Regions from separate parts of the Homo sapiens genome. Here regions 1, 2, 3 and 5 are each linked to region 4. The links are contacts of gene promoters, found by promoter capture Hi-C in blood cells and fetal thymus (Javierre and others, 2016). All regions are on one chromosome and are shown on one strand. Each heading gives the region's core, a stretch centred on a gene start or on the middle of the fragment in contact. The rest is flanking DNA. Distances are from core to core; before and after follow the strand shown.

Region 1 (3,809 bases), core at 355-2,854, 530 kb before region 4:
AGGATCCCTGGAGGGAAGTGGCAAAAGCATCAGTACCCAAGCCCCATTCCAGGCCAACGAATCTGAATCTATATATTTTTCAAAGCTCCAAGGTGATTCTGAATGCAGGATGAGACAAGAAAGTAAGCAATTACAGTATTTTCTTATCCTTGGTCTGCTCAGGAAAGTACAGGGAGACCTTGGAAAGGTGCCTAAGTCAGATTTTAGTGGTGGTGGTGGAAGGAGGGTTAGGGAAGGCTACTGGAAGAAATGACAAGTGACTCCATGCAATGTGATGGCAAAGTTGGAGGCCCTGAAGGCAGTTCTGCTGGACTGACTCAGAAGGTAAGGGGAAGGCAACATGTTTGAGGCTGGAAGAGGCAGTCAGGGGCCAGATTGCAGAGGGCAGGTTTGCCCAATTAGGGAGTTTGCACAGACCCCAGAGGCAATGGGGTACATGGAGAGGAGTTAAGCAAAGAAATGCCATGATCAGATGTCTGCTGGTTGCTTAGGGGACTTACGTTGTTCATCTGGGTAGCAAAAGGCTCCAGCAAGTTGGGGTCAGGACCTCTTCCACTACCCCCATGCATCTGGAGAGGGCAGAAGCTTTCCCCAGGGCTGCTGGGCGCTACTAGTTTAATCTGAGTTTCATGGTGCATTAGCAATGAGCTCTCAGGATCAGCCAAGTCCCTGGTACTAATCAGCCGCTGAGGCAGGATCGATGGCAACTACATTGATCTTGCTTTTTAGCTTTGGCTCCTTATAGAGCTTATTGACTGGACAATCTAAGAGGGCGGGGGATGTGCACCCAAGTCTCACCGAACTGTGGTAGAAAAGCGAGGAGAAGGGTCCCTCACAGGTCCTGCACCTCACTCTAGTCTCACACTCATCCTGAATGTGGCCCCCACTGCCAAATCCTACACCCTACACAAAATCATGGTGTTCAAGGCTTCAGCCTCAGCTGTTGCCACTCACTCTCCGTGTTCAGGTTTGAACCCACAGAAATGCCTTTCCAGCTCCTCTGCCTCTAGATACGTTCTTCTCTCTAACAAGGATGTGACTGACTCCTACCTCAATTTACCCAGTCTGATCTCTTCCTTCCTCCAGATCCAGCTCAAATATCGCCTCCTCTAGGAAGCCTTCTGTGGCCTAACCTCACCCCCAAAGCACCAATAAAGTCTTCTGTATGTCCACAGCATTTGATATGTAACTGTATGTATGACACTGATACACTTTTACAACTAATTACTGTGTCTGTCTCCCCAGAATGTAAGTTATTTAAGGACCTAGCATACAGCAGATGCTCAATGAAGGGTTCTGGAGTGAATGAGTGAACAAATGAATGAAGAAATGCTTTAAAATATCATACAGATTTCAGATTTATTTCTTTAATCCTGACCCCGCACAGCCCTCTAAGGGTACAGAATAGCAGAGACTCTGCCTAATCTAATATGGATGGCACTGGTTCAGATTTATACCTGAAATATTAGAACTGGGAGGAAACTTATGCCTTATTGTTATTGAGTTCAATCCCTAATTTTATAGTTGGGGCCACAGGTCCAGGGACAATAACTGACTCACTCAAATCTCACAAAAGCAGATGGCAGGCTGAGAACCCTCCAGGTGCTACTTTATGTGGACATGACCATGAAAGTGGGGGATAGCAAAGCCCACTGAACACCTCCAGGTATTCCCACCCATCACTCTGACTTCCTGTAACAGTCTTTGTCTCTTGAGGTGCATCTGGCTGAACAGGTACCTATTAGCTGGGCCACAGGATGGAGGCTCCCAGAAGACAAAAGTTCTTTCTTACAGTGACTCACTATATGAAAAAAGGGCTTTATTTCATATCTACAAGCCTCAGTTTCCCAATCATTAAAATGGGGGAAAAGATTATCTGCCTTTTCTCTTCTGGTCTTAGGAGAGGCTACTCCTTGAGCAAAGCCTGCCATTCTTTAAAAAATATCTTCACAGGTCATGCCATCTGGTATCGATGAGAGAAGGCAAGAGAACATGGGGTCTAGGAAGTCAAGCTGAGAACATAGCCTGTTTTTGTTTGTTGGTTTACTTTTTATTGAAATACAACATACAGAAAAATGAACTTATCATAAGTGCACAGCCCATACATTTTTCAAAAACTGAACCAATGTGTACATAATATGTAGATCAAGAAATAGAGCCTTCCCGAAGCTGCCCTTGGACTCCCTTCCCATCACTACTGCCTAAATCCACCATACTGATCTCAAGCACCATAGATTAGCTCTGTCTCTTTTTGCACTTCATAGAAACAAAATCTTATAACTGCTCCTCCTTTGTGTATACCTCCTTTTGTACAACATCATGCTTCCATAAGGTTGTGTGTCATTGTAGAGTGGCCATTCTAATTGCTAGATATTATTCTATTGTATAATTATATTATGATTTGCTTATCCATTCTACTATTGATGGACATTTGGGTAGTTTCCAGTTTGGTGCTATTACAGATAGTGTTAAAATAGTCTGTTTTTAATATTTTAAACAATCACTTAAAAAGACAGATACTTTAAAATATCCAGGAAGAAAATAATTGTATATTCATGCTTCCATTTAATAAATATTTGTCAAGCACCAACTGTGTCCTGGAATGGTCTTCTCCCTTCCTCTCCTAAGCTTAGCCTTTACAGAACAGGTGACATCCCACCTCTTCTACAAAGCATTTTTGCTTGCCCCCAACCTATAGTGACATTCTCCCAACCCTTAAGCCTCAAGGTAGGTCTTGCCAAGAACACACAGTAGACCATGAGCCCACCCTGCTAGCCTTGTTCCTGCTCCTTCTCTGCTTATTTTCAGGTGGGCACTTCTGAAAAGCAGGTATCATCTTTCTCTGCCTTCCACAATACCATGCACAACACTGGGCACATTATCAAACTCACAGAATATACATTCAATTTAACTAGATCTCAGCCATAAGAAGGTGATGTAAATGCATGAAGACCCCCACTCTCTGTCTCTACCCCAAGGATAATATTTTTGCAAAACATGGAAAAGATCTATGCCAAACATGGGCAAAACCCACGGACAGCGATGGATGGAGAAATGCATTGCAGTAGCCTTGATAGCCAAAATGAATTGGTTCCAGAGCCTGAGCTCTATGTTGTGGTTTATAATCACTTCTCTCTCCACTCCTTGGTGCAAATAATCAGTAGACACTGAAGTTTTGGATAGAGGACAAATTTCAGCACCATGGGTAGATCATCCTGTTGGCTGTTCTCAAGGAGCCACAGCAGACTTAACAGCAAGGTATTTTAGTGAGACAAACTCATCTTAGTTGAATTTCAGAAATGCTCATATCCTATTTTCACTTTCCCACAGACTTCTGCTAAGCTCTAAATTCCATATAATGAGGTTGAAAAAGTATAGGTTTTAAAGCTAGATAGACTTGAAATTCAAATTCCTGCTGTATTGCTTGTCAGCTCGACTTTAGGAAAATTACTCAATCTTTATGAACCTGAATTTATTTTATTTGTAAATCATGCTTATAATATTTCTTTATTTCAGATGTTATATTTCCAAGTCTAAAATTTGCATTTGGTTCTCTTCTGTGGTTTCTTTTCATTTCTTCTTCTTCTTCTTTTTTTTTTTTTTTTTTTTTTTTTTGCTAACATTGGTAGTTCAGTCTTTACATTCATTGTAGACATACTTTTCTTTATATCCTTGAGCATAGTTATAAGAGCAGCTTTAAAATATTTGTCTGCTAATTCCAAAATCTGGGTCATTTTAGGGCCAGTCTCAAATGTTTTCTATGGGTAAAGTTTTCCTATTTCTTCCTATGGCTAGTAATTTTGAATTAC
Region 2 (4,357 bases), core at 1,178-3,677, 600 kb before region 4:
GGGACTTATTTGTTGAATAGTATTTTGTTAATATCTAGGACATTATCATTATCATGTATCATTATCGCTGCAGTTCATTTGTTTTAAATGCCATATTATATTCCATTGGATAAACATTCTATTGTTTATATAGTCACTCTCTTTTGATGGGCATTTGAGTCTTTTCCAGAATTTTGTCATTGTAAACAGTTCTGAACATTCTGACACACGAACATTCTTATATATGCAAGACTTCCATTAGGTATATATGAAAAGCAGAATTTCTGGGTCAGAATATTCACTGTCATGAGAAAGTTATATCTATCAGCTCTAAGTGTCCCCTCCTCTGTGAAATATCTATTCCTAGTTTTTCCCATTTTTCTTTTGGGTGTTTGTATTTTTCTCATCAACCTCTTTGGCCTGCTTCCTGCCTGTAGAATACTATCGCTCAAGATCCTTTCATGTCCTTAAAAATCAGTCTTATTTAACCTAGGCTGGCAGCACTTTCAGCAATGTAACTCTCTCGAAAACCCTTTTCGAAATGTCAGTAGCCAAATCCACAATTCATTTTGAGACATGTCTTGCTCTCCCTCTATATGTAGTTTCAAGTACTCTGACATCATCAGGCTTTAGGAGACCTTTCCATGAGACATTCTGTCTAATGGACAGGATTCCCTGGGAGTGCCGTATTCTTATCAGAAGTCTTAACAAAGGCAGTGACAGTTGTGCCCTGGATTTGGTCTTGGTCTCCAGGCTAAGTGTTCATAGCCATGCCTTTGTTTTGTTTTGTGCCTTAAAGCTATGTATTATTTTGAGAATTTTTTTAACCACAGAGGTTGGAAGTGAGAGATTATTGCATCTTTCAACACTCTTAGCCCTAGCATTTCTAGACTTTCTATATTCCCTTTCAGTTCCACTTGCAAATGAGCCTGCCCTTTGCTGACATCATTTCTTTCTTGTAGTACCTCATGAAATGTAGCTAGTAAAAGCTAACTCACACTAACCAATTCTGTCTCAAAACCTCTTCTCCCAAAGCTATAAATTCAGTAGGTTTATTTTCTGCCCTCCGAGTTATCATATGTGACAGTTTTACCAAATGTTTCACTACAGCATTCCATAGGTTGCCATTTCTCTAGCCCCTATAATAATTTCTCTGCTGTCTGCCACCCAGCTGCAAAGCCAAATCTGTACATCTTATCCTTTGGTTAGAGCAATTTCTCTCTTCTAGGTATTAATTTCTGTATCGGCCAGCTTTTGCTGCAGCAACAAGCAACCCCAAAATATCTGTGGCTGATAACAAGAAACATTTCTCTTTTTTGCTCTTAAGTCTGCGGGCCAACTGCAGCCCTTCATTAAGCTGTGGGTCATGTCAGTCTTTGTCACAAGTCTTCCCAATTCCAGGGTCCAGCTAAAGGAACAGCTCTTGCTCAGGACAGGACATTCTACTGGCAGAGGGTCCAAGAGAAAGAGGATTATCAGAAACTTGCAATGCTTTCAAAGCTTCTGCTGGGATCTGGCATGTCATATCTGCTAACATTCTTTTTTTTTTTTCTGAGACAGTCTCACTGTGTCACCCAGGCTGGAGTGCAGTGGCGCGATCTCAGCTCACTGCAAGCTCCACCTCCCGGGTTCACACCATTCTCCTGCCTCAGCCTCCTGAGTAACTGGGACTACAGGCACCCGCCACAACACCCGGCTAATTTTTTGTATTTTTAGTAGAGACAGGTTTTCACCGTGTTAGCCAGGATGGTCTCGATCTCCTGACCTCATGATCCGCCCGCCTCGGCCTCCCAAAGTGCTGGGATTACAGGCCTGAGCCACCGTGCCTGGCCCATATCTGCTAACAGTCTATTGGCTCAAGGGAGGTACATGGCCAACCTCAAAGTCAACGGTGTGAAGAAATACATTCTAAACCCTTTTAAATGAGAATAGAGCCTCCTGCAGATTTGAAGGAGCTCTTGATATGTTCTTATATTAATCCTTTTGGTATGTGTATTGCAACATAATCTCCCATTTGTAACTTGTTTTTAAGTTGTCTCCTTAAAAAGTATGTTAATATTTTTATTGAAAAGATGTATAGGTTTAACAAATTGTAGTAGCTCCACTATCCAGACAACCATTTTCATTTTTATTGACCTTCTAGTCCCTGTACACATTAAACAAACTCCACCCCAGAGTTACATACTATAATGAGTAACTCAATGCAATTATCAATTTCTACAACATGCAATGCTACCCTAAGAACTGCCGCAAATTTTAAGTCCAGAAGATAAAGAAACAGAAACTTAGCAAAAGATAAATATTTACAAATACAGTGTAGAAAACTGCAAAATATTTCAACAGTTTTAAAAAATGCTTTCTTTCAGGCAGACTCCAGGGACAACAGTGAGCAGGGAACCGCGGACAGTCTCCAGATCTCAGAAAGAGGAACTTGAGCAAAAACGAAACAGAAAAAAAAAAAAACAAGAAAAACTATTCTTTCGAAACCTTCCAGCCACCTCAAAGTGAGACCCGTAAGCAAACAGGTATACTTCAGAAGTCTCTAATTCTCATTAGTTGACTTTCAGTAATCGATGTTGGCCCCATGCAGATGTTTTAAATCACTAACACAAACATTGCTGTCTTTGGTATTCTTGCAGTGTTTTCATTTATGAGAAAACCTGCAGAAGAAACTGCTTGAACCAAAGCAAAGTAGCAAGGAAACAGGTTACTATATAATCAGAAGGCCCTAAGAAAGGTAGCAGCAGGTCATATAATTACCTCCTTGTGGATAAAATCCCTGTCCTCAAACTACGCAACCTACTACCTGTACTTCTTCCTTAGGAACCAATTTTTTCTTGCCAGTCTTCTACTTGGCAGATGCCCTTTAAAGAAACCTGTGAAATTAAGCCACCTTTTTTGATTTTTTTTTCCAAATTCAAACCAGTTAGAATTGTTTCACAGATGCTTTTAAAAAGTTATTGGCCATATGATGTTCATCAAAACCACAAATGCATTTGCTTAAAACCAAACTTCAAATAAGTTAGGAAGGGGCGAAAGTAATTCAATTACATTAGAAGATGCAAACCAGTAGTCTAAGCCTCAGCCCACCATATATTGTTGGAGCACATATTTTATTGAAAGCGTTTAATCTTCAAAATTCAAACATCAAATCTCATAAAATCTCCGGCCTTCCTTGATCAATTAGAAAAGTAGATGACACAATGTAACTCCTGCTTGCTGCCTATCACCTGGAGCAAATTAACACCCTGCCTGTCCCCTTTAGATGCCATGCGTTTTCTAGTCATAGTCAGCTCCTCCTGGGACTCTGAAGGTATTTCAGCTTTTCAGTTTTTGACCCCTGAATTATAGTAAATGGAAGCAAATTCTGATCATGATTTTTGTCAACATTAAAAACAAGCTTTTTGAAACTGTCACTCTCTCCGCAATGGTACTTTTAAGTATTTTTACAAAATGTACCCATTCTCCATAATTTGGTCCACTTACTCCGCCTGGCTATTAAGGCTGTAAAATGGACCCTTATGTAATTAATGAAACATGTAAATTCATTTTTCTCCAGGCCTTACTTAGTTAATTAGTTAGAAAAAGATAAGTTTCCAACTGCAGAGTAGTAGTAATATCTACAGTGGAGACACATGTCAGAAAACCACAAAATTCCTGTGAATGAAAGAATGACTGTACTTGCCTCATGTTCTGCAGGCAAGTTATGCATGTTGTCAGTTTAACTAAGATTATGCCAAAGAGAATTTCGTGAACATTCTCACTTTTCTTTGGCATACACCGAAAGGCAACAAATGTAAGTTTGTTTTTTTTTTCCCCAATGTTTACGCAATTTGGAACAAAGACCAATTATCAATGTAGGTGCCCTACCATACGTCTGGGAATACATAAAAAGCACAAATGTGGTCCAGGATACATCACTTTTTTTGGGCCCACCCAAGGGAGAGTTTGATGTTTCCTCTTACGTAAAGTTACTGTTGTCAATGGCACTGCACTAGATATTAACATTCAAGATAAATGAAAATATTTGTGAGGTGGTAACCTTTTCCTCACCTTCACACTTTGCCCCTTTTCCCTCTTGTCCCAAAATAAAATAAACAGCAAACACTTAAAACAGGGAGCTTTTAGCCTTGCTTGGCTATAAGGCACAAGGTAGAATATGGTTTGGCTATTGGAAGAAAGCTGAAACATGGACCTTTCACAGGTATTAAAATTCAAGGTAACCTTTTTAGCATTTTGCTTCTATTTTATTTAAAGCAACAAATTATAGATGTCTCATCTGACATTTTCAAGTAATTCCCCCTTTGTGAATAAAGGACCACTTCAAGTTTAGGGAGCAAAGTTCAGAGCTTAGCGACTTACCAGGGAGCAAGGGTAG
Region 3 (4,416 bases), core at 549-3,048, 630 kb after region 4:
CTAAAGTTAGTAGTATCTACTTTACAGAATGTTTAGCTGGCACCAACTTGTGTTTTTGGCATTGCTTTTGATTCACTGTTATTCTGAGCAACTATCTATAATTCTCTACCTGAGGACAGATGAGATGAAAAGTGTTTGTGCTGCAACCGTCAACCAGGTGGGCAGAATATCATGTACCCCGTGGAAACTTATTAAATATTCAGTGGTGCTAAGAATATGGAATGGCTCAAAGGGAAAATGAGTTCTAACTTACAGGCGACTCCAGTTTGAGGCAGCATCTCTATGCTAATGTAAATTCTTTAATGCAGAACCTATACAGTTAGATGGTCAGGGATAAGGCCTAAGGGATGTTTAGCAGTAAAGTCGTGTGTGTGTGTGTGTGCGCGCGCGCACGTGCGCACACACACTCAAGTAGCACATTTAGAGATCTTTATCCAGATAAACCGAGAAGAATAAAATGATTCTGGAACAAGCTTAGTTTGTCCGATTTATTCAAAGTTTACATTGCAAAGGAGAGAGCTAGTTTTCATCTAGTCCATAAAATCAGGTGGCATACGTATGCTATTTATGTATTTGTGTTTTTTATTGTGGGAATCTTCAAACATTCAAAATTAGGACAAATAAATGAATACAATAAATAAAATGAATTCATTTATCATCACTAGATTCACTAGTCATCAATACATGCCAATCTTGTTTTACTTATTTTCTTTCCCCATCCCCTAGCTATATAAAATTTAAGCAGGCAGCACATGAATAGGTCTCTATTTGAATTTAGTATATCATAATATTATAGTAAACTGTATAGTGTTCTTAATTTTTAACCTGTTTTTACTACAACAAATCAAAACGTGACTTGGGGAGATTTTCATAAATATTTTTGAGGAGACTTTTAGAGAAAATTTAAAGCTACTTGGTAGATTTTTGAGAAACAGTTTCAGGAATACCTCATATTTTGTTGTCTCTTTATTTATAGATTTTCCTAGAGCAGGGTGTCAGCATTAGATAGCAAATTATTGGACCAACTGCTCTCTGAATAGAAGATCTTTGCTGTTTTGTCAGAACTCAGTAGCAGAACTTTTCTGATATTGTTTGACTTAGCCTAAAGAGGTGCCTGGAGTGTAAAATTTAAGAAGACACTCATTCTCAGGTGCGAACTCTGTACCTCACAAGCCTGAGAACAGAGTGCCTCCTTAGTTTTGTGCCTGGAGTGCCTCACTTGCCTTACTCTTGTCCTGGCCTTGTTACACATACTCATATTAAAATCATTTTTTGAGCTCTTCATTCTTGTTTTAGTGAAGAACTGAAAAGCTTGGGCTTAAGAGGTAGCCAACACACATAGATACATACCTACTTTTTATTTTGAATTTATACTTTTCATCTCAACTGTATTCCCTACTTATTACCTTAGAGTATTACAACTGTCATTAGAACACTTAAATTTAAGTGCCTTCTATGCCATGCACAGTGGTAGATGCTTTTACTTACAATGTTTCACTTAGTTCTCACATTTCTCCTTAAAGCAGAGGTTATTCCATGTTACAGGTCAAGAAATGTTTACTCAGACTGAAGAACTCTTCCTAAAATCATGCAGCTAGTAGTAATGTAGCTAGGATCCCAACCTAGTTCTGAGTCCCAGACTCCATTGCTGGTTACTACCTTCATGGATGAATGTATACCAGAGAATTTAGGCCAGGTGTGGTGGCTCACGCCTGTCATCCCAGCAGTTTGGGAGGCTGAGGAGGGTGGATCACCTGAGGTCATTTAAATGTGTATGTGCGCACACACACACACACACACACACACACAGAACTGCTTCATTTTCTCAAAGTGTTTACGTTTGAATACATAAAGACTGAGTTATCTGAACACTGCTTCATTATAGAAATCTCAAAAAAGAAAAAAAAAATGAAAGATACAAAAAAAAAAGAAATATCAATCCTCTTATTCCAGTGATGGATATGAGTCCTTATTTTACTGCTCTTGAGGAGTGATTTTGTTCCACTTTTTCAGAGGCTACTCCACATGGTGGCAGCACTGCACCAGCACATATTAGATTCTCTTAGAAAAGAAAAGAATGAATGCTTCCAGGGGTTGTGCCTTAGTAGTTTTCTTGTAGCTCACTTCAGAAGGGCATCCTAGATTTGAAAGCACTAGAATATCTGCAGAAATGACTTTGAAATCTTCTAATATGAGAGATAAATGTTGGTCGAGGGCTGAAAATTCTTGGTGTTATATTGACCTCAAGTCTGGTTCCTAGTGACACTGTGCCTTGCTGCAGGTAACAAAGCTTTACCATAGTTTTGTTTCCTGTGTTTTGCAGAGAATCACATACATCTTACTTTCCTGCAGTTGTTTTACAATTTATAGTTTAGTTGAAGCTAACTTTTGATGAAATACTAGTTAAGAGAGAAAAGATGAATTTAGAAGTAAAAAAATCTCACTCTATTAAGTCCTAGCTTTATGTTCATGTTGTTTAACTTACCCAAGTCTGTTTCCTTTCCTGGAAGATGAAGGCTACTATCTTAGAGAGTTGTTTGGATTATTAATTGAGCTTTTGCATGAAAAGTGCCCTGTAAAGTGCTTGGCTTATGGGAGCTCATAAGTGGTGGCTGCTACTGTAATTATGAAGTAGGTATTAGGCAGAGGTTAACATTATTGCTACAATATTAATTTAAAAGGTTCTGATTCCTTTAATATTTGTATGGACTATCTGTTCCAAGGGAATTAAACTTGTCGTCAGATGTGGACTTTATTAGTTCATTATTTTGAAGGTAAACCTCCATCCAGAATAAGGAAACATTTTAGAGCTATAGGGAAATAGCTTTTGTGGTTTTTTTTACAAATGTCACAAGTATATATTTGCAAGAAAATGTGTATCTTTTTGGTATATGACTTGTTTTATTGAGATATGCACTTTTGAATGAATGATAGTATTCTCTAGCTTCGTTACTATGGTTTTCTTTTTTGCTCTCAGAGGCATTTAGGGGTATTCAAACCTCAGTTAACTTACGTATATTAGAATTTGCAACTCCAGAGATGCTCTTGACAGCCCCACCATATGTGCTTTGCTTTTTGTTTTTATTTATTTTAAAAATTTACTTTTTATTTTTTGAGAGACCTGGTCTTGCTCTGTCACCCAGGCTGGTGTGCAATGGCTTGATCATAGCTCAGTGCAGCCTCAAACTCCTGGGCTCAAACAGTCTTCCCGAGCAACTGGAACTACAGGCATATGCTACCATGCCCAGCTAATTTATTTTATTTTATTTTTTGTAGAGATGGATCTTGTTTTGTTGCCCAGGTTGGTCTCAATCTCCTAGCTTAAAGCAGGCCTCCAGCCTCAGCCTCTCAAAGTACTGAGATTATAGGCGTGAGCCACCATGCCTGGCCTGCTTTTTGTCTTCTTGGGTTCAGTCCTCGTAAGTCCCTTTGGTTTACTGCGTAGCCCCTTTGATCTTCATCTTCCAGACTGTCTATCACTCTCACAGCTGCCCATGAGAATACCTGTGCTTCATTGTTCTGTCCTCTCTGCAAAATTGCAAACTGTTGAATTAGTAAAAAAAAAAAAAAAAAAAAAAAAATTTCTCATTTGTTAAGTGTTCTTCTGCATAAGCAGCATGCTCTCAGAATAGCCTCAATTCAGGCCAAATATAATCTTTACCAAAAGTTGTAGTTAAACTTCCAGCTTCTTTTAATTTGAACTTTTGCTTGAAAACCATTTTATGAAAAATAACATTTTTCTTCTCAGAAAGCAGTATGTATTTTGACTATGTGCTAGCCAGCACGTAGACACAGCATGGGATTATGATGGTGGTTCTCAACCAGGAGTGATTCTACTCTCCAGAGGACATTTGGCAATGTCTAGTAACATTTTTTTGGTTGTCAAACCTGATGGGAGGAGTGCTACTGGCATATATCGGGTAGAGTCCAGGGATGTTTTCAACATCCTTCAGTGTACAGGACAGTCCCCCGACAACAAAGAATTATCCAGCAGTAAATGTTAATAATGCCAAGGTTGTGAAACCCTGGATTATGGAAATAGCACTGAGGCTTCAGAGCCAGAGTGGCTGCTGTTTGAGTCCTGGCTTGGCTGCTTACTAGAAATGTGGCTTTGAACAAGTTATTTAAAATGAACTTCAGTTGTCTTATATGTAAAACTGAGGTAATAATGCCGATTTTAGTGAATTATTTTGAAGATGAAAGAATAATGTATTTAAAATTTTAAACTTTGCCTGATATATGGTAAATGCTTAATAAACTGCAGCTATTCTTGAGGAAGTGGCCTAACATTATGCACCTTCCGGTTGTTATAATCTTCATTTAGGCATTAGGAAGTTTACTTGTGTGGTGATTTGTTGTCAACCTAAGATGATAAAATATTGAAAAAATGCCATCTGTCTAGATCTCTTTCTAAGA
Region 4 (4,276 bases), core at 1,618-4,117:
ACACACACACACACAAAGGTATAAAAGAAAATGGTCCAAGGTGGGTGGATCACCTGAGGTTGGGAGTTTGAGACCAGCCTGACCAACATGGAGAAACCCCGTCTCTACTAACAATATAAAAAAATTATCCAGGCGTGGTGGTGGGCACCTGTCATCCCAGCTACTTGTGAGGCTGAGGCAGGAGGATCACTTGAACCTGGGAGGCAGAGGATGCAGTGGACTGAGATTGTGCCATTGCACTCCAGCCTGGGTGACAAGAGCGAAACTCCATCTCAAAAAAATAAATTAATAAAACCACACACATAAACAGCACAGTTGTATAAAAATATTTTTCTTTTTTTAAATAAATATTTTTATTTCTTATAAATATGTTGCCTAGGCTGGTTTTGAACTCCTTCTGCCTCAGCCTCCCAAAGTGCTAGGATTAGAGATGTGAGCCACTGTGCCCAGCCAATATTTTTGCTTTATATCCTTATTCTATAAGCTTTTTCCTATTAAAAAAAATTCCTTTTACTTTTAAAACTTTTTTGTTAACAAGACAGAAACACACACATTAGCCTAGTAAGCCTACAGAGGGTCAGGATCATCAATATCACCATCCTCCACCTCTACATCTTGTCCTACTGGAAGGCCTTCAGGGGCAATGTCACACGTGGAGCTGTCATCTCCTCTGATAACAATGCCTTCTTCTGGAATACCTCCTAAAGGACCTACCTGATGCTGTTTTACAGTTAGCTTTTTTTTTTTCAATAAGTAGTAGTATACTCTAAAATAACAATAAGGCTGGGCATAGTGTTTCATGCCTGTCATCTCAGCACTTTGGGAGGCCGAGGCAGGCGGATCACTTGAGGTCAAGAGTTTGAGACCAGCCTGGCCAACATCGTGAAACCCCGTCTCTACTAAAAATACAAAAATTAGCCAGGCGTGGTGGCGGGTGCCTGTAATTCCAGCTACTCAGGAGGCTGAGGGAGGAGAATTGCTTGAACCTAGGAGGCAGAGGTTGCAGTGAGCCAAAATCCTGCCACTGCACTCCAGCCTGGGCGACAAGAACAAAACTCTGTCGCAAAAAAAAAAAAAAAAAATTATTAGCCCATTGTGGTGGCAAGGGCCTGTAATCCCAGCTACTTGGGAGGCTGAGGCAGGAGAATCACTTGAACCTGGGAGGCAGAGGTTGCAGTGAGCCAAGATCGTGGCACTGCACTCCAGCCTGGGCGACACAGCGAGACTCTGTCTCAAAAATAACTAAATTAATTAATTTAATTTAATGACAATAAAAGGTATAGTATACTAAATATATAAACCAGCAACATCGTCCTTTATTATCATTATAAAGTTTTATATACTGTACATAATAGTGTGTGCTATGCTTTTATACAACTGGCAATGGAGTAGGTTCGTTTCCACCAGCATCTCCACAAACACATGAGTAATGTGCTGTCACTATATGATAGGGATTTTTCAGCTCCATTATAATCTTATGGGACCACCCTCATATATTTGGTCCATTGTTGGCCTAAATGTCATTATGTGGTACATATTATTAATGAGATATTTTACTTTTTTTAGTATGAATTTTTTGGTGTGTATTTTCTTCACTTATAGCACATCTCAATTCCATGCAACATTCAAGTGCTCAATAGTCACGTGTGGCTAGTGATTACAGCATTGGAAAAAGACAGATACGGTTGAGGAAACTTAAAAAAATGTAGCAAATGTAGTTGTAGAGACGTGCTCAAGATCACTCAATTATCATAGCTAGGACGTGAGTCTCCAGCGACCTTCCAATTGCCTGGTTGAACCAAAGCCCTGGTTCATTCTGCTGCGCATTAAAAGCAGGCTTTACTCCCCTCCAAACAGTAGAATCGCAGTTAAACTTAGTCAAACAAACTTAATGTATCCAATACAAAACTCATCTTTCTAACCCTAACACCTCCTCTTCCTCTCTATTTTCTATTTCAGTTGATGGTACCATTATGTTTCTGCTCACTCAAATTATTATTATTTTATCCATAAACGAGCACTTTATCTAGAAGATCATTTAAATTCTAAATGATCTTCAAAAACGCACTTTACTCTCCACCCTAACTAGCTGAATCATCTCCCACATGGGTCACTATGAGAGCCTTCTGATTTGTTCCCTTGCCTCAGTCTCTCCCCACCCAGCTTCAGCAGTATTCCCTAAGACTCTTCATGGCTCTCCGTCCTCTACAGAGTAAAGACGACACTCTTCATCACACAGCACAGAATTCTCTCGGGAACCTGTTCTTTGCTTACCTAACAAGGCCCAGTTGTTTGCTCTTCCTAGACTCTGAAGAGGTCACTTACCCTCAGGCTGCTACATTTGTAAAAATCGCCATCCCAACTCTCAAAGAGCTGGCTTCAGATTTGAGATAATACACTTTGAATGATATACAATCAAGGAGTTTCTCCTCCATCACTCCTTTACATTTTATATCTATCTGCTGTTTAGTGCCTCGTCTCAATTCCATGAAAGCTACTGAATACAAACTATTTACTAGGGAGTCTGCGGGACACAAACAGAGGGATTATATTTAAAAAATAGATTGACGCGATCTTTGCCTTCCCCGACCTCATTACAATATAGTTTCTCCACCAATATCTTTAAAAACAGATCCTCTCTAACAGTATGAGAAAATCAAGGGGAGCCTCGGAAGTTCAGGCCAGGCTGCGTTCCGAGGAGCCGCCACGTCCCCCCACCTCCGCTTCCCGGGCCGCGATTGCAGGTTGAAAACTACTCCCAAACATCACAGGGCAGGCAGAATGCAACTACGACCCACGTGGCAGACGGGGGCGGGGACCGGTCGCGTGGCCGCGGCCTTGGCTCTTGCGCCTGCGCGCTGCCTCCCGCTCTAGGACCCGGATTTAAAGAGACAGGCGCTCCAACCGTCGTGGGCTGCCCGCGGCCTGTAATGAGCAAGTTCCGAGGCCTACGGTGAGCGCCGGAGCCGGAGAGGCAGGTGAGGGGCTACGCGGCGCGGCACGGCGCGGCGGGGCCCGGCGTGGGGAAGGCAGCGGGCCCGGGGCGAGGAGCTCGGCGCGGCCGGGGAGCCAGCCCCCCGGCTCCTCCCCCGCCCGCCTGCGGAGCCCCGGGGCACACCCTCCGTGACGTGGCGGCCCTCCCGGGAGCCCAGGGGGAGGCTCGCGGCTCCCCGGGACCCCCACGGGGCCGCGTGAGGCGGGGAGGCCGGCGCCCGGGCTGTGTTCCCTGTGGAACCCACGGGGCCTTCTCGTACCCTGGCCCGGCGTGCGTCCTCCTGCGCTGAACCGGGAGCGCTCGGGTGGGACTCAGGGAGCCTTGATCACTTCCCGCCTGCGTCCCGGACCCGGTGGAGGAGCGCTCCTTTCTGCCTCGCCGGGGGTCGCGGCCTACGCCGCCGACCCCACTGTCCCCGCCACTCTCCGACAGCGGCGCGGGAAGCCCTTCGAGAAAAGCGGCGGCGGCCAGGCCTCAGCGATTTCCTTCTCGGGCCCCTGGGCTGCGGCAGTTGTGAGGGTGCGGAACGAGGGACAGACGGGTTTCCTCAAAGCTGCATTGTGCCTCCTCGTGGCCCAGCGCCTCCCGAGCCTCCCTCAAGTCCACTCCTTTCATTATTGGGGCCCTAGAGGTTGCTCTGTAAATTGATCTTCTAGGAAAAGTGTTGAAACTCACTTGTTCTGACCTCCTTTTATGGGTCTGCCGTACTTCCACTTACCTCACCTCTGTGGTTCTTAAACTTTGGGAGTTATATAGCCCTTTGTGAATATCACGAAAGTGATAGACCTCCTCCAAAAAACCGTGCATTTTTATCGAATGTACATTTTGTATACATTTTTAGAGAGCTCAGAACAGCCTCCCTCCCCCACAACCAGCGCATTCATGGATTCCTTGTAATTTTCCCAACTACCCTGTGAGGTAGGTATTATTTACCCTGCTTTAGAAATAAGAAAACAGATGCAGATAAATTAAGAGTTTTCTCCGAGGTAACAGTCAGTAAACTGTACAGTCAGACTTGCACTCCCATCCCTTATTCCAGGTCCACCAGCTTTCCTTCACATCATGTTGCACTACAGTAAGCAAAGCCTGCTTTTTATTATAACGTGACAGCAATTTTGCTTCACAGCGTGTGCAGACTGAACATAATTCCAGTATACTTAAAACTAGGACTATAAAATGCTTTAGAAAACATGAATATAAGAAGATGCTGATATAATCTTTTTCCATTTGGATTGATTTATGAGTTCCTGTGAGTCTTGCTGCCCAGTGACTTCAGCATTC
Region 5 (3,825 bases), core at 574-3,073, 620 kb after region 4:
TTATTACTCTCATCATCTTTGTTATCAGTAATATAATGCTTGTTTTTACCTATGAGTTTGGGTCTAGGAACAAAGGATTCTTCTGGGGAAAGTCCAACCCTTCATCTTTTGTAAAATTGTTCCTAAATAAAATAGATCATTTCTAGAAATGTGGAGGGTCTTCCCATCAAAGACAAACATTTTAGCCCATCTCAGCTTATTGTGCCTGTAGCTTAGCTTGCTTTATTTGTTGCTTAGGATCAGAATTCTGTGCTTTTGTGTTCAGGAGTCCTTACATTTACCAAAGTATTCCAGACATGGCGCCAACTACCATTCTTCTTTTTCTCTTGTTGCAGTGAGTTGCTTAATTATGTCAGTTTGTTGTCTGTAGCTTTCAGTCTTGGCAACACATCAGAATTGCTCAGCCAGGGAACTTTGAAATAATACTGATGCCTGGGTCTCAACCTCAGCCTGATTTCAGTTGTCCTGGATATGGTCTGGGTGTGAGGATTTTAAAGGTTCTCCAGGTGGCCAGGCATGGTGGCTTATGCCTGTAATCCCAGCACATTGGGAGGCTGAGACAGGAGGATTGTTTGAGTGCAGGAGTTTGAGACCAGCCTGGGCAACATGGTAAGACCCTATCTCTATGAAAAAAAATTTAAAAATTAGCCCTGTACGGTGGTGCACACCTGTAGTCCCAGCTATTTGGGAGGCTGAGGTGGGAGGATCACTTGAGTGCAGGAGGTTGAGGCTGCAGTGAGTCGTGATTGTGCCGCTGTACCCCAGCCTAGGCAACAGAGAGAGACCCTGTCTCAAAAGAAAAAAATTAAAAAGAAAGCTCCCCAGATTATTTTAATGTGCAGCCATGATTGAGAACTACTGCTAGCTGCTAACAGTGCTTGGTAGATTTGATTGGGGGGAGGAGGAGGGAGAAAATATAGGAATTTAATAAAGTTGTAGAATATATGACTTTGCCTCTTTTAGTACCCCTCTTTGGTCCTGCCCAACTTTTTCCTCCTTATTTTTATTACTTACACCTCACAAAAGCCATTAGCCACTTGTCATTCAGTCTCAGCTTTTTCTGATTTTCTTTTGGAAATATGTTTATTTCTTCTTCTGTTAGCATTTTGTGTGCTTTGACGAACAAAATGTCTATAATTATATAAAGGGATACAATTACAATTAAATAGTTATAATTTTAAAACTCTCCTAATTCTTCAAACCTACTCTTGAAAAGTGTCCTGGTGACCTTTTTTTAATTCAGGCATTTGTAAAAGTTTGAGACTGCAGATTGAATCACTGCTAATAAACATCATACTTAAAAAAAATTGATAGATTGTGTTCCCTGTACTTCCTGCAACACCCACCAGAACTGCCACTGAAACATATTCTTTAAATTTATGCTTTTGGAATTGGAATAATTTCTGTTACATCCTGCTTTGATTCTATAACACCTGCTGCTGTTCACAATTCAGACTTTCTGAAACCCCGCCGTTTGTCCTTCACTGTTCCCGGAAGTGAATGAGAGGAACTCTAAGAGCTGGATTTGGCAGGATGGGACATGGTGAAGAGTCCTATGAAGAATGACTCTTTAAAGGGCCCAGCTTTTCTTGCTATGCTACTTTTGTAGCTGTTGATTAAATAGAAATTTTGGAACAATTTTTTTGCCTTATTGGCCATGGATATTGAAACGAAAAAGTGCTCTACTTCTGTGTCTTACTAATTTCATCCTTTCCACATAATGGTTTCAGGCAAATCACGTAGTGTTTGTCCCCACTATTTCTTTCTTTTTTTTTTTTTTGGAGGAGGGGAGGTCAGGTTTTAATGTCCCAGTCCTCGGGCGCCGTCATCCCGCGCCTGCCAGGCCCGGCGGCCATGTCGCTCACTCGGGTGGCGGCCAGCCTGCCTCATCAGGGCCTTCCGCGGAGGCCGCCCCGTCGCCCTCGAGCACCAGCTTCACGTCCAGCTCCAGCTGCCCGGTGTAGAAGCCCACGGCGGCGCACACCCAGAGCGGGCTGGTGGCGAGTACAGCGCCCGCAGCTGCGCCCCCTAGCGTCAGCTGCATGGGCCCCCGCAGCGCTGCCAGGCCCCGCAGGCGCTGCCCCACACCGCACACAGGCCGCCCAGCAGGAAGAAGCCATATGCTGCTTCGTGATCCATGTCACTCTGCATGAAGGAGATAACCCCGATGCCCTATGCCAGGAGGCCATTGTGGAACCAGGAGAAGAAAGCTGTCTCGTGCGCCTTTCGGAGAGGAGCCTGGCGCCTGCACGGTCCAGCTCGGACACAGGTGGCGGCGAAGCCCCGTTGTGGGGGCCGTGGCCGGGGGCGAAGGACCCCTGGGCGCCCCCGCTCCGGGGCCACTGAGGCAGCAGTAGCGACCTCCGGAAGCGGAGACTGTCCCCACTGTTTCTATGCTGGTAAATGAGATCTGGTTGAAAGGAACGACAGGAACAGTCTTGAAGGTGGAGGAAAGTCTTTTGAGGCAGTATGGTAGATGAGCTGGAGGATGTAGATGGAAAGTTGAGATGGGAGTAGTCAACCTCTTTTTCATGGACTTAGTGTTTTTTTTCCGTTTCTTTTAAACAATATTAGGGTTGTTACTTTCTTTTTTATTTTGGTTCCGGCTTCTTGCAGATAGGTGAGCCTGGAGACCAGGCCTTAAAATAGTGGTTACAGTCCCTGACAGTTTACAGTGCGGAGCCTAAGCAGTCATTCAAGATTGTACCTTTGGAAATGACTCCATTGTGTACCATTCTTGGTTTCAAGATTATTCTTGTTTGATTGAATAGCAAGGGCCTTAAAGCCCACTGATTTATTAAAGTACTGATTAAAGTAGTGATTCTCAACATTGGGTGTGCGTTAGAGTCACTTGGTGGAGCTCTTAAAGGTATAAATATGAGTTCTCTTTGACATTATGATTTATTTGGCCCAGAGTGGAGCCTGTACTTTGCTATATTTAGTATTTCTCAGGTAATATTAGTGTGTGGCCAGGGCTGAGAACCTTTGCATTCAAGAGTCAGGAGACACAGTGCTAAGCCCAACTTTGTCACTGACTCTGTGAACTTTGAGCCTCATTTCTTAATCTGTAAAGCCGAGCGTGGGTAAATGAGGTAATACGCGCCTGCTCCCTACCTACGTTTATGTTCTCCTCCAGACTTTAACATTCTGATGGAAGATCATCCTTCATATACTGTTCTCTCCCCATTGTAGCTAGATATAATGAGATTTGGTTTTTCCCACTCTTGTGGTTCTTGAAGATCTGGATTGCACCTTCCTCTCTGGCCATAATTTAAAAGATTTTTAAAACTTACTGATGGCTTCCTTGTCAGTGAGTCAGGTAATATTCTAGGGCTTTGAATTTTATATATTCTATAATTTTAAAATCTTATTTTAGTTGCTGCCCTGCTATCCTGGTATTGGTTATTACATAGTGTAGTATTCTGCTCTAAGTCTGTGGTACTGGAACCTTACCAGTTTGCTCTCATCTCTTGCAGGAGAAATATTTGAACTAAAAGCTGAACTCAACAATGAAAAGAAAGAAAAGAGAAAGGAGGCTGTGAAGAAAGTGATTGCTGCTATGACCGTGGGGAAGGATGTTAGGTAAGAGTAATCACCCTTGCCATTGATCACTTCAGAGGTCCATACCCCATCTTATGGCCTTTACTGCTTTTCCTTTAAAAGTATCATAATCATAGAACCTCTAAGAATGGGTTTGTCCCACTAAAAACATCATTAGGAAGTGCAGTTGCCTTTGTATTAATGCTCTACTTTTTGTTTGTTTGTTTGTTATGGGGTGTGTGTGTGTTTGTGTTAGAACAGTGAAACGAGTTTGATTTCATTGCA

What was found. Contacts are between HindIII fragments. The CHiCAGO score rates a contact against its expected background, and 5 or more counts as called.
Region 1: a fragment that was not itself captured here is called in contact with the fragment with the promoter of LIG3 in region 4 in 1 of 17 cell types (M0 macrophages); the score reaches 6.6 in M0 macrophages.
Region 2: a contact is called between a fragment that was not itself captured here and the fragment with the promoter of LIG3 in region 4, in 1 of 17 cell types (erythroblasts). The highest score is 6.2, in erythroblasts.
Region 3: a contact is called between a fragment that was not itself captured here and the fragment with the promoter of LIG3 in region 4, in 4 of 17 cell types (naive CD8 T cells, activated CD4 T cells, total CD4 T cells and 1 more). The highest score is 7.6, in naive CD8 T cells.
Region 5: a contact is called between a fragment that was not itself captured here and the fragment with the promoter of LIG3 in region 4, in 3 of 17 cell types (fetal thymus, total CD8 T cells and naive CD8 T cells). The highest score is 6.4, in fetal thymus.

The regions. Positions count from the first base shown.
Region 1 is chr17:34,448,315-34,452,123 of GRCh38, forward strand. No RefSeq gene overlaps it. Among named protein-coding and RNA genes, the nearest start is that of CCL1, 87 kb to the left of the region's middle. The HindIII fragment of the contact is 2,043 bases long and covers 584-2,626 here.
Region 2 is chr17:34,376,411-34,380,767 of GRCh38, forward strand. No RefSeq gene overlaps it. Among named protein-coding and RNA genes, the nearest start is that of CCL1, 15 kb to the left of the region's middle. The HindIII fragment of the contact is 1,900 bases long and covers 1,478-3,377 here.
Region 3 is chr17:35,611,100-35,615,515 of GRCh38, forward strand. The region is part of intron 5 of AP2B1 (adaptor related protein complex 2 subunit beta 1); the gene reads left to right. Among named protein-coding and RNA genes, the nearest start is that of AP2B1, 26 kb to the left of the region's middle. The HindIII fragment of the contact is 979 bases long and covers 1,310-2,288 here.
Region 4 is chr17:34,977,645-34,981,920 of GRCh38, forward strand. It overlaps LIG3 (DNA ligase 3), which reads left to right and starts at 2,868. Exons shown (of 20, transcript NM_013975.4): 1 at 2,868-2,978. RefSeq lists a silencer at 2,893-3,322. The HindIII fragment of the contact is 8,847 bases long and covers 483-4,276 here.
Region 5 is chr17:35,594,754-35,598,578 of GRCh38, forward strand. It overlaps AP2B1 (adaptor related protein complex 2 subunit beta 1), which reads left to right. Exons shown (of 22, transcript NM_001030006.2): 3 at 3,477-3,582. It also overlaps the pseudogene LOC100420062. Among named protein-coding and RNA genes, the nearest start is that of AP2B1, 9.3 kb to the left of the region's middle. The HindIII fragment of the contact is 5,699 bases long and covers 1-3,825 here.